Linked DNA regions of Homo sapiens: region 2 is linked to region 1. The links are contacts of gene promoters, found by promoter capture Hi-C in blood cells and fetal thymus (Javierre and others, 2016). All regions are on one chromosome and are shown on one strand. The core of a region is centred on a gene start or on the middle of the fragment in contact, and the rest is flanking DNA. Distances in the headings are between cores, read along the strand shown. Region 1 holds the start of CACNA2D4 (calcium voltage-gated channel auxiliary subunit alpha2delta 4). Region 2 has its middle 14 kb from the start of MIR3649.

Region 1 (5,799 bases), core at 1,125-3,624:
AGTAGAGGGAGGCGAAGGCTTTCCGGACAGGGTGCTGGAACCCCGTGGGGGCAGTGGGAGCTTGTATAATGTGGGAGTGGTTACCCATAAAAGAAAAATAATGCAAATCCCAGGTACAAACATAAAAATAAAAGTGAATATTTATTATCGAAAGCAGGATCTCGAGAGATATTTGCACACCCGTGTTGACGGCAGCATATTTCACAGTAGCCAAAAGGAGGACACCACCCCAGGGTCCATCGATAGAGGAACGGATGCACAAAATGAGGTCTATCCACACAATGAAATATTAACCCATCATTGGTCACCCCCAAAAAGTAAGGAAATTCTGACACACGCGGCACCGTGGGTGAACCTTACCGACATTGTGCTAAGTGAAATGAGCCAGTCATGGAAGGACAACTATGTGATGACTTCCCTTCTGTGAGGTCCCTAGAACCGTCAACATCAGAGATACAGAAAGGAGAGTGGTGGCCGCCAGCGGCTGGGGGAGGAGGGAACGGGAGCTAGTGTTTAATGGGTTCAGAGTTTCAGTTTTACAAGATGAACGAATTATAGAGATAGATGGCGGCGAAGGTGGAGCAACATGATTAATGTATTTAATTACACTAAACCGTACACTTAAAAAGATGATTAAGATGGCACATTTTATGCCACAATAAATATTGGGCCACAATAAAAAAGTTGAAAAAAGGTGAATATTTATTCAGTTTTAAAAATCATTCCAAATTACAAATTTTAAGAAGCTGGTGAATTCCACCAAATTCACAAAACCTAGAGAAGTTACATTCTTTTTATGTATTGACTGCCCAGTGTGCCTCTGTAGTATTTTTTCTAAATGTGTTTGATTTGTAATCCTCAAAACATGTACAAAATTTATGTGAAATTAAGGCATTCATAGGAATCATTTAGATGCCTTTAAAAAATACATTGTATTCAGCCACAAAACTGTGCCACCAGATTACTCTGATACTACAGCACTGACTTATTGATGAATCTGTGTAGGAGTTTTGTCATCAGAACACTTGCTTCTGCAAGCATTTCTCTGCGTTGGTGGCAATTTTGCTTACCATTTTGCTGGAACCACCAGATTTTGTGAAGACACAGTGCACCAGTTACACTAAGAAAATAATCTGATACGGGGACTGCATAAAATCTATGACTTCACCCCCGGAGAACCCATGTGGTACTACTACTGGTTTGGGCTCACAACACAAGAATTTTGATCAATTCTAATTTGTGTAACTCTCATCAGAACACAAAGCAATGTACGGTGTAATTATATTCTTTCAATATCCACTATTTTCCTAACAGGAGAGAACTTCTGTCCTGGCCAGGCCTTGGTGAGAACCAAATCCTCCACCAACGATGTTACCTGTGTGGCTTTTTGTAGATTTTCTGCAGATGAGCTCCTGACTGTTACTTTGCCCTCCCCACCACACATGGCCAGGGTGGGTGTGACAGCGTGCGCTCACATCACGGCCCAGCCTCTCTTGCTGCATCTGCTGGTGGGATGTCCTGTGGGATGAGTGTTCCTGGAAGCCCTGCCTACACTCAGCTGGAGGTAACTTCTCTGTACAAAGAAGTCACTGTGAACCATGTCAGCATATCCCACTAAGCCCAGATTAAGTGTTTCCCCAGCTCACTTTCCTCTTAACTGGATCCCCCAAGTGCCCTCAGCCACCCAAACATCATCCAACTAAGAGTCCCTCAGACGGAAGAGAAGTTGGGATGGAAAGAGACAGACAGTCTCAACCGGTTATGGTTAAACTATCTCAACTTTTGCATATTTTACAAAAACATTTGGCCACAGGAACACATTGCTAGGGCCTCTCCGGGAAAGGGGGGAGTCTGTGGATTCAGGGGTCCTGAAGCTTCATCAGTTGCACAGCAAATGCGTCCCCAGCCCCGCCCACGAGCAGCTGAGATGTGGAGGCGTGGGTCCACTGACTTCACCTATGACCTATGACCTGTCCCAAAGGCACCAGGCCTGGAAACACCAGCCAGAGTCCCAGCTCTGCCCCTGGGACTCCCCGGGCCTCAAGAGCCTCTGCCAAGCAGGGATGAGGACACACCCCCACCTCAGGGTCAACAAGAGATTTGTGGGTCAATCAGAGTACTGTGCAAACTCAGCTGCTGTCCTCTGGCCATAGTCACAGCAAGCCCTTCCTGGGTCCAGAAGGTGGTTCCACAGGAACGGGGCTGCCTCTTTAAAGCAGAGGGGTGCACTATAGCCCTGAGGGAACCAGCTGCAGTTGTGGTAATCTTGGGAGGCAGCTCCCCACCCCCTGCCACCCCCTCCCTGCTGTCAGGAGAGGATTAGAGGAGAGGCCAGCGGATTAAAGGGTTTCATGTTGCCACAGCCTCTCCCCCAGTCCCTGTCTCCGAGGCCTGCTTGCTAGGTGGGGCGACTCTTCTGTGAGCTGCAGCTGTGGGGCAGAGAGAAGCCCTCCCCACCCAGGACTGAGAGGCTGGAGACCCCAGGCTCGCCAAGGCACGGAAGACAAAGGCCTGGGGCGTCCTGGGGTCTGGGAGGAAGGCAGACAGAGCTCATGGTCTGTGGCTGCTCTGCCCTCCTTCCCCTCCCCAACCCCAGGCCCACCATGCCTGCAACTCCCAACTTCCTCGCAAACCCCAGCTCCAGCAGCCGCTGGATTCCCCTCCAGCCAATGCCCGTGGCCTGGGCCTTTGTGCAGAAGACCTCGGCCCTCCTGTGGCTGCTGCTTCTAGGCACCTCCCTGTCCCCTGCGTGGGGACAGGCCAAGATTCCTCTGGAAACGTAAGCATCACGTTCAACCCCACCCCAAAAACCCGGTCACCCTTTCCCACTTTCTTCCCGGGCTGGGCCTCCATCCTCTGCCCACTCCTCCCGCCCCTGCCCTCCCTCTGGGCTTTTCCCCAGTGGCTGCGACTGACCACTCTCTTGCTGTAAAGCCCTTTGCTTCTCCGGCCTCCTCTTTCTCCTCCCAAAAGCTCTGTGAGTTCTGGAGTCCCACCTGCCTCTCCCCAGGAGCCGGATGGCTTTAGGAAGAACTGATCATCAGGGCTGCTGTCTTCCTGGCCTGACAAGCAGCTTCTGGGACACCTGAAGGGCGGGTGCTCCTTCAGGATAATCGCTGAGATGAGGCAGCCTGGAGGAGCCGGGTTATCTCAGCATCGCAGCTCCCCGAAGCATTTGGCAGGAAATGCGTATTTTGACATTCCAAAAAGGGGAAGCAGTTCTGAACCCACAGAACGTCTCATGCGCACAGGAGGTGGCTTGTCCAGGAACTGGGGAAAAAAATGGATTTTGGTGGCCGCAGTCTTCCCTTTCTACACCTTTCTGCCTCCTTCCAACCTTGATTCTCTAGCCGGCCATTAAGACCGGCTCCAGGAAAGAACCCGGTATCAGTCATGTGCACCTTGGTGTACATGTAAATTACTGTGCAACCTCTCTGGGGTGTCTGTGTTTTAGGCCCTAGCTCAGGTGGTCCTAGGAAGGAAATTTCCAATACATGTGGGTAGCAGAGCCTTCTAGACTGTAGGTGCTACAGACCCCATCCTGTTTACTCCAGCCGCTTGAGCCCAGCACCATAGCCAGGCCACCAACAGAGCCACCTGCCAACTGCATGTCTTAGCAGGAGTGGGGACAGGGAGCCTAAATGACACACCGTGCCTGTGCTTAGCCTTTGCTGACCAGTGGATTAGGCAGCATCGTTTCCCATCGAGCCGCATAGCTCTCCTTGTTCCCTGCCTGGCACGGAGCTGGGCGCTTCACAAATGACACCGTTAGTTTGCAGAGCCATTCAGTGGGGGCTTATTTTTATCCCTATTTTGCAGCTGAGGAAACAGAGGCCCCGAGAGGTCAGGTGACTTCCCCAAGTTCACAAGGCCAGGAAGTGAAGGTGCTGGGATTTGAACTCCTGTCAGCCTGGACTGCACTTTCACCATTACACCCGCCGCCAGCCCGTAACGCTATCTGTTGCTGCAGGAGATGTTCAGAACAATTTTCATCCCCAGAACACACACCAGCTGATAGGAGAGGGCCAACTCCAGGAGTGGGCTGAGGGCCAAGTCGGGGTGGCTGGAATCCAGGCCTTCAGGGAGGGGGGCCCCAGCGGCCATCTATGCAGAAGCCCTGGGTGCTGCCAGAGACAACAGCCTGCACACAGCCTCATCTGCCTGCCCAGGACTTGGCCCCACCTGTCCTCACTCCCGCCGAACCTCTCTTCTCAGTCTTTCCCTCCAGCCGGGCTTCCACCTCCTCCCAAGTCTGTTTCCACAGGGTTCCCAAAGCCCTCCTCATGCCCAATCCAGGAGACATTCCTGGCCTTGTCACCCCAGACCCTGTTGCTTGGGACACACAAGCCCCCGTCTTCTTTTATCCCAGTCCTTGACTTCCGTGGCACTGCGCTCCGCTGGGCCTGCATGGGCACGGCTTATCTCTGCTGTCCTCAAGTGCTCCTCCTCCTCTGCCTGCCCCGGAGGTGGGGGGTGCTCCCCAGCAGCTGTCGACGCTCAGAGATCTCACGCTGCACACTCTCCTTGAGAGAGCCCTCCTGCCCTCAGAATTTCAATCCCTACCTTTGCATCAATGACTCCCAGCCCTGTCTCTACCTACTAGACACATACCCAGTGCTTATGGGCAGCTTTTCCTAAACATCATGTGAGGTTTTAAATTCAGATTTGTGTCTTTCAAGGTAAAACACAATTGGTGCCTTCTAGAGTTGTGCAGTGCACAACCTTCCCAATGGTACTTGGTAGCTCTACAACGGGAACCTCACATTCAGCAGAGCCCAAGGTACACACATCACTTTTCACCCTCCTCAGCTCATTCCCCCTGCCCTTCCTGATAGTCTTAATTGTATTCAGTAACAACACCATCAGGTCAACAACCCACACTGGAAGCCCGGAAGTCACGTTTTACTCCTCCAAGCTCTTCTGTACTCCCGACCTAGAATCCTCTCCCAGACCCCTTTGCAGGCTAACCTCTACCAAACTTCTAACCTGGAGCTCAGATCTCCCTCCCCAGGGAAGCCTTCCCTTATACCACTACCCCTCCCCAACCTTCATGGGCACCTTCAAACATGTACTATGCTACCCGCATGACAAAGCTGTCCCTGCAAGGGTGGGGACTGTGGGGTGGCTCCAGGCTGCCACATGGTAGGACCTTGATAAACATTGGTTGAGTGATGACTGCTGATCTTGAAAGGATCGCACAGGCAAACCACTTCCGCTCCATCTGGAGAGGCTCAGCCCCAGCCCTGTGTACCTGCCCCCAGGACCCCACCAGCCTGGCCAAGATGGTGGGATTGTGGTGCATTTCTGGGGCATGGGCGAGAGGTCGGGGCTCCCCACTAGGCTGCCTACACAGAGGGTGAGGTGTGGCCTCCTTATGCCCTCCTGGCCTGCCCTGCCCTCAGGCTCAGCAGTGGCAGCTCAGAGCCTTTTCCTGCTGTGCCCTTGCCTCACGCGTTCTCTGAGGTTTCAACAGAGGGTTCGGCAGCCCCCAGTGGCTTTGAGTGGAGTGCACTGGAGGGAACGATTTATTGAGAGGCCACAGCTGTGGCCAGGCAGGTTGTCCTTTGTCCTCAGGGTCCTCCGGCCCTGGCCTGAGGCTGTCCACTGCCTCTCCCCTCCTTCTCTCCTCTCAGTCTGCCACTCTCCAACCAGAGGCCCTGGAAGCTTGGGGTCAAGCTCAGTCCTGGGCTCGTCAGCCCGGCCCCACAACCCTCAGCAGGAGAACCTGCCGAGGACATTCAGCACACAGCAGTGCAGCCGCTGGGTCCTGAGGGTTCTCCGCGTCTCCTGCCCAGGCCA
Region 2 (5,799 bases), core at 2,261-4,760, 240 kb after region 1:
GTAATCCCAGCACTTTGGGAGGCCAAGGCGGGCAGATCACGAGGTCAGGAGTTTAAGACTAGCCTGGCCAACATGGTGAAACCCCATCTCTACTAAAAATACAAAAATTAGCCAGGTGTGGTGGTGGGCACCTGTAATCCCAGCTACTTGGGAGGCTGAGGCAAGAGAAACGCTTGAACCCGGGAGCGGGGGGTTGCAGTGAGCCGAGATCGCACCACTGCACTCCAGCCTGGGCGACAGAGTGAGACTCCATCTCAGGGGGAAAAAAAAGCCAGGTTGGGTGCAGTAGCTCCTGCCTGTAATCCCAGCACACTTTGGGAGCCCAAGGCAGGAGGATCACTTGAAGCCAGGAGTTCGAGACCAACCTAGACAACATAGCAAGACCCCCATCTCTACAAAACAAGCATGGTGGCATGTACCCGTAGGCCTAGCTCCTTGGGAGACTTAGGTGGGAGGATCTCTTGAACCCAGTAGCTTGAGGTTGCAGTGAGCTATGGATATGCCACTACACTCCAGCCTGGGTGACAGAATGAGATTCTGTCTCCAAAAACTAAAATAAATACAAAGCTGAACACTCAAGAAAGAAAGTTAAATAACTAGGTGCCTGAAACACAAAGGGAACCAAGACCACTACAGTACCTGTGAATTCAAGCTTCATTTGCTCTAGAAGGTAGGGGACAAGGGGAAAAAAAAAAACCTTCCCTGAGGAATTAATAACCATGAGCCTGTGCCTTATGTGAGCTTAAGGTTTACTTTTAGAACAATATGATAGAGGATATACGATAAAGTTAGTATTTTTAATGTGTATGTGTATTTTTACACATTTAAAATGTGTAAAAGAAGAAATGCAAGAATAAACAAGAGTGAATGAAATAAGAACAGGTAGAAATGCAAAACAATCAAACTTCCAGAAATTATAAATAAAACTTAGTGAATAAGTTAAACGGCAGATTCGACACAGCCAAATCAGCTGGTTGAATTTACCCAGAAGACAGCATAAAATGAGAAACAGAAAATAGAGATTTGGCGGCCGGGTGCCGTGGCTCACGCCTGTAATCCCAGCACTTTGGGAGGCCGAGCCGGGTGGATATTTTAGGTCAGGAGTTTGAGACCAGCCTGGCCAATATGGTGAAACCCCATCTCTACTAAAAATACAAAAATCAGCCAGGCGTGGTGGTACACACCTGTAGTCCCAGCTACTCGGGAGGCTGAGGCAGAAGAATTGCTTGAACCTGGGAGGCAGAGGTTGCAGTGAGCCAAGATCACGCCACTGCACTCCAGCCTGGGTGACAGAGCAAGACTCTGTCTAGGGAAAAAAAAAAGAGAGAGAGATTTGGAAGCAAGGAGGATAATATGTCTACTGTAACACTCATAGGTAATCCAGAAGGAGAAAAGGGAGAGAACGGAGGATCATAAATATTCAAGAGATCATCACTGATAATTTCCCAGAATTAAAAAAAAATTCCGAGAATTGATGAAAGATATGAATCCTCAGACTCAGAAATCATGACAAGTGCCAAACCAATAAACAAGAAGAAATTTACACCTAGACGTATCATGGTGAAATTGCAGGCACCACAGACAAAAATCTTAGAAGCTACCAGAGACAGAAGACAAAAGAACTACAATTAAATCCAACAATAAAGGCCCAAAGATAATGGAATAGTATTTTCAAAGTATTGAGAAAAAAACAAAAACATTATCAATCTAGAATTCTATATTCATAGAAGTTCTCACTCAAGAGTGCAAACAAAATAAAGATGTTTTCAATAAAATAAAGACATTTTCAATAAAACAAAGACCAGGAGAGTTTAACATTCGGTTCCTCTCTGAAAAAAAAAAAACAAAAAAAACAGCTAAAGTGTATACTTGCAGAAGAAGAAAACTGAACCCAGAAGGAAAGAACAATGGTAATAATTCTCACCTACTTTGGGTGGAAATGTAAATTTGTATACCCACTTTGGAGCAAGGTTTGGATTACCAGGTATAGTTGAATACGTGCATATCCTAAGACCCCAGAATTCCACTGCTAGGCATAGAACCTCCTGTATGAGGGACATAAGGAAATATGTAACAACATCATGATTTATTATAGCAAAAGCCTGGAAATAACCCAAATAAATAAATAAGGTGCTATTGATTTATTTATTTTATTTTATTTTTATTTTTATTTTTTGAGACAGAGTCTTGCTGTGTCGCCCAGGCTGGTGGAGTGTGGTGGTGTGATGTCGGCTCACTGCAACCTCCACCTTCTGGGTTCACGCTATTCTCCTGCCTCAGCCTCCCAAGTAGCTGGGACTACAGGTGCCCACCACCATGCCCAGCTAATTTTTTGTATTTTTAGTAGAGACAGGGTTTCACATGTTAGCCAGGATGGTCTCAATCTCCTGACGTCATGATCCGTCCGCCTCGGCCTCCTAAAGTGCTGGGATTACAGGCCTGAGCCACCATGCCGGCCTATTTATTTATTTTTTGACACGGAGTCTTGCTTTGTCACTCAGGCTGGAGTGTGGTGATGTGATCTTGGCTCACTGCAGCCTCCGCCCCCGCCCCGGGTTCAAACAATTCTCCTGCCTCAGCCTCCCGAGTAGCTGGGATTACAGGCATGTGCCACCACGCCTGGCTAATTTTGTATTTTTAGTATAGGCGGGGTTTTAGCATGTTGGTCAGGTTGGTGGCGAACTCCTGACCTCAGGTGATCCACCTGCCTCTGCTTGGCCACAGTTTGTTATTTTTTTAAAAGCAAAGAAATGATGGAGGGATCCAGGCGCGGTGGCTCACGCCTGTAATCCCAGCACTTTGGGAGACCGAGGCAGGTGGATCACCTGAGATAAGGAGTTCAAGACCAGCCTGGCCAAATGGCGAAACCCCGATTCTACTAAAAATACAAAAATTAGCCGGGTGTGCTGGTGTGAGCCTGTAGTCCCAGCTACTCAGGAGGCTGAGGTGGGAGAATTGCTTGAACCTGGGAAGCAGAGGTTGCAGTGAGCCGAGATCACGCCCCTGCACTCCAGCCTGGGTGACAGAGTGAGACTCTGTCTCAAAAAAACAGAAATGATGGAGAAGTTCATCATGGAGTGGCATGCAGGTGGCTTCTGAGGTATGGTAATGTTCCTTTGGGTACATTTTATTGCTATTCTCTAAACTGTGCTTTTTTTTCTTGCCATTCATTCATTAAATATTAAGAGCTTACTCTAGGTCAGGCCTGTGCTAGGTGTTGGAGATACAACAATGACCAAGTTAGACAACGTGCTAGTTCTCATAGAGGACATTGTAGTGAGGAGTTTGGTGTGAATTAAAGATTCATGAATTCCAACTACTTTTTTTTTTTGCAGAAATAGACAAAGTGATCCTGAAACTCACATGGAAAAGCAAGGACCCAGAATAACCAAAACAATCTTGAAAAAGAAGATAAAAGTTAGAGGGCTCACACTTCCCAATTTCAAAACTTACTTTAAAGCTACACTAATGAAGACAGTGTGGTAGTGACATAAAAATAAACATGTATATTTCAATGCAACAGAATGGAGAGTCCAGATGTAAGCTGATACATCCATGGTCAATCTCTGACAAGAGTGGCAAGACCGTTCAGTGGGGAAAGGTCAGTCTTTTCAACAAATGGTGCTTGGACAACAGATATACATATGCAAAATAGTGAATTTAGACCCCCTAAATTCACACCTTCACACTATATACAAAAATAAACTCAAATGATCAAAGACCTAAATGTAAGAGCAAAAACTATAAAAATTCTTAGAAGAAAATATAGGGGTAAATATTTGTGATATTGGAATAGGCAATCATTTCTTAGGTATAATATCTAAAATGCAAGCAACCAAGGATAATTAGATAAATTAGGTTTCACCAAAAGTAAAGGCTGTTATGTATCAAGAAAGCGAAAAAACAACCCAAAATGGGAGAAAATATTTACAAATCATGTATTTAATAAGGGTTTTATATCTAGAATATATAAAGAGCTCCTATACCTCAACAATAAAAAGATAAATAACTCGGCTGGGTGTGGTGGCTCACACCTGTAATCCCATTACTTTGGGAGGCTGAGGAGGGCGGGTCACAGGTCAGGAGTTCAAGACCAGCCTGGCCAACATGGTGAAACCCCATCTCTACAAAAATATAAAAATTAGCCAGGCATACTGGCAGGCACCTGCAGTCTCAGCTACTTGGGAGGCTGAGGCAGGAGAATCACTTGAACCTGGGAGGCAGAGGTTGCAGTGAGCTGAGATTGTACCACTGCACTCCAGCCTGGAAGACAGACTGAGACTCTGTCTCAAAATAAATAAATAAATAAATAAATAACTCAATCTAAAAATGGGCAAAAGATTTGAATAGACTTTTCTTCAAAGAAGATCTATAAGAGGGCATGAAAAATGTCCAATATCATTAGTCATTAGGGAAATGAAAGTCAAAATCACAACAAGATACCACTTCACAGCTGGGCACAGTGGCTCACGCCTGTAATCCTAGCACTTTGGGAGGCCGAGGCAGGCAAATCACTTGAGGTCAGGAGTTCAAGACCAGCTTGGCCAACATGGTGAAACCCCGTCTCTACTAAAAATACAAAAATTAGCCAGGCGTTGGGGCAGGCGCCTGTAATCCCAGCTACTCAGGAGGCTGAGGCAGGAGAATCGCTTGAACCTGGGAGGTAGAGGTTGCTGTGAGCTGAGACTGTGCCACTGCACTCCAGCCTGGGCGACAGAGTGAGACCCCATCTCAAAAAAAAAAAGAAAAAAAAAAGGCAAATTATATGGGATGTAAATTTTATCTTAGTAAAAAACAAAATAACAGAAACAACACAAAAGATTAATGATATCTCACCCTGTCAAAGCAGGAAGGGATCTTAAATGATTGTCTAGTCAAACTGCATTATTTTAGAGAGAAAGAAACCAAGGTGCAGAGGAAGGAAGTGACTTATAAAAAGTGACACAGCTCGGGCCTGGCGCGGTGGCTCACACCTGTAATCCCAGCACTTTGGGAGGCCAAGGCGGGCAGATCAGTTGAGGTCAAGAGATGGAGACTATCCTGGACAACATGGTGAAACCCTTTCTCTACTAAAAATACAAAAATCAGCTGGGCGTGGTGGTGCACACCTGTAATCCCAGCTACTCCGGAGGCTGAGGCAGGAGAATCACTTGAACCCGGGAGGCGGAGGTTGCAGTGAGCTGAGATCACGCCATTACACTCCAGCCTGGGTGACAGAGCAAGACTCCATCTCAAAAAAAAAAAAAAAAGTGACACAACTCGTCAGCTGCAGGGTGAACATTGAGCCCCAGGACCTTTTACTTTTTTCTATATCCTTTAACATGTAAAATTTCAAACACATACAAAATTTCAAACACAAACACATACAAAAATGTCAAACACATACAAAAATAGAGCTAGCTCCCTGTATCTATACTCCAGCTTTAATAGTTATTAGTACACAGCTTTTTTTTGTTTTTTTTTTTTGAGACGGAGTCTCGCTGTGTCCCCCAGGTTGGAGTGCAGTGGCGCGATCTCAGCTCACTGCAAGCTCCACCTTCCAGGTTCACGCCATTCTCCTGCCTCAGCCTCCCGAGTAGCTGGGACTACAGGCGCCCGCCAACACGCCCGGCTAATTTTTTGTATTTTTAGTAGAAACGGCGTTTCACCGTGTTAGCCAAGATGGTCTCGATCTCCTGACCTCGTGATACGTCCGTCTCGGCCTCCCAAAGTGCTAGGATTACAGGCGTGAACCACCGCACCCGGCCCACAGCTTTAATAATTATTAAATAAGTATCAGTACACAAATTCAATTTTTCT

What was found. Contacts are between HindIII fragments. The CHiCAGO score rates a contact against its expected background, and 5 or more counts as called.
Region 2: a fragment that was not itself captured here is called in contact with the fragment with the promoter of CACNA2D4 in region 1 in 1 of 17 cell types (neutrophils); the score reaches 5.9 in neutrophils.

The regions. Positions count from the first base shown.
Region 1 is chr12:1,915,227-1,921,025 of GRCh38, reverse strand. CACNA2D4 (calcium voltage-gated channel auxiliary subunit alpha2delta 4) reads left to right here and starts at 2,374. Exons shown (of 38, transcript NM_172364.5): 1 at 2,374-2,779. The coding sequence starts at 2,553. RefSeq lists an enhancer at 3,725-4,301. The HindIII fragment of the contact is 3,790 bases long and covers 1,877-5,666 here.
Region 2 is chr12:1,671,945-1,677,743 of GRCh38, reverse strand. No RefSeq gene overlaps it. Among named protein-coding and RNA genes, the nearest start is that of MIR3649, 14 kb to the right of the region's middle. The HindIII fragment of the contact is 5,712 bases long and covers 655-5,799 here.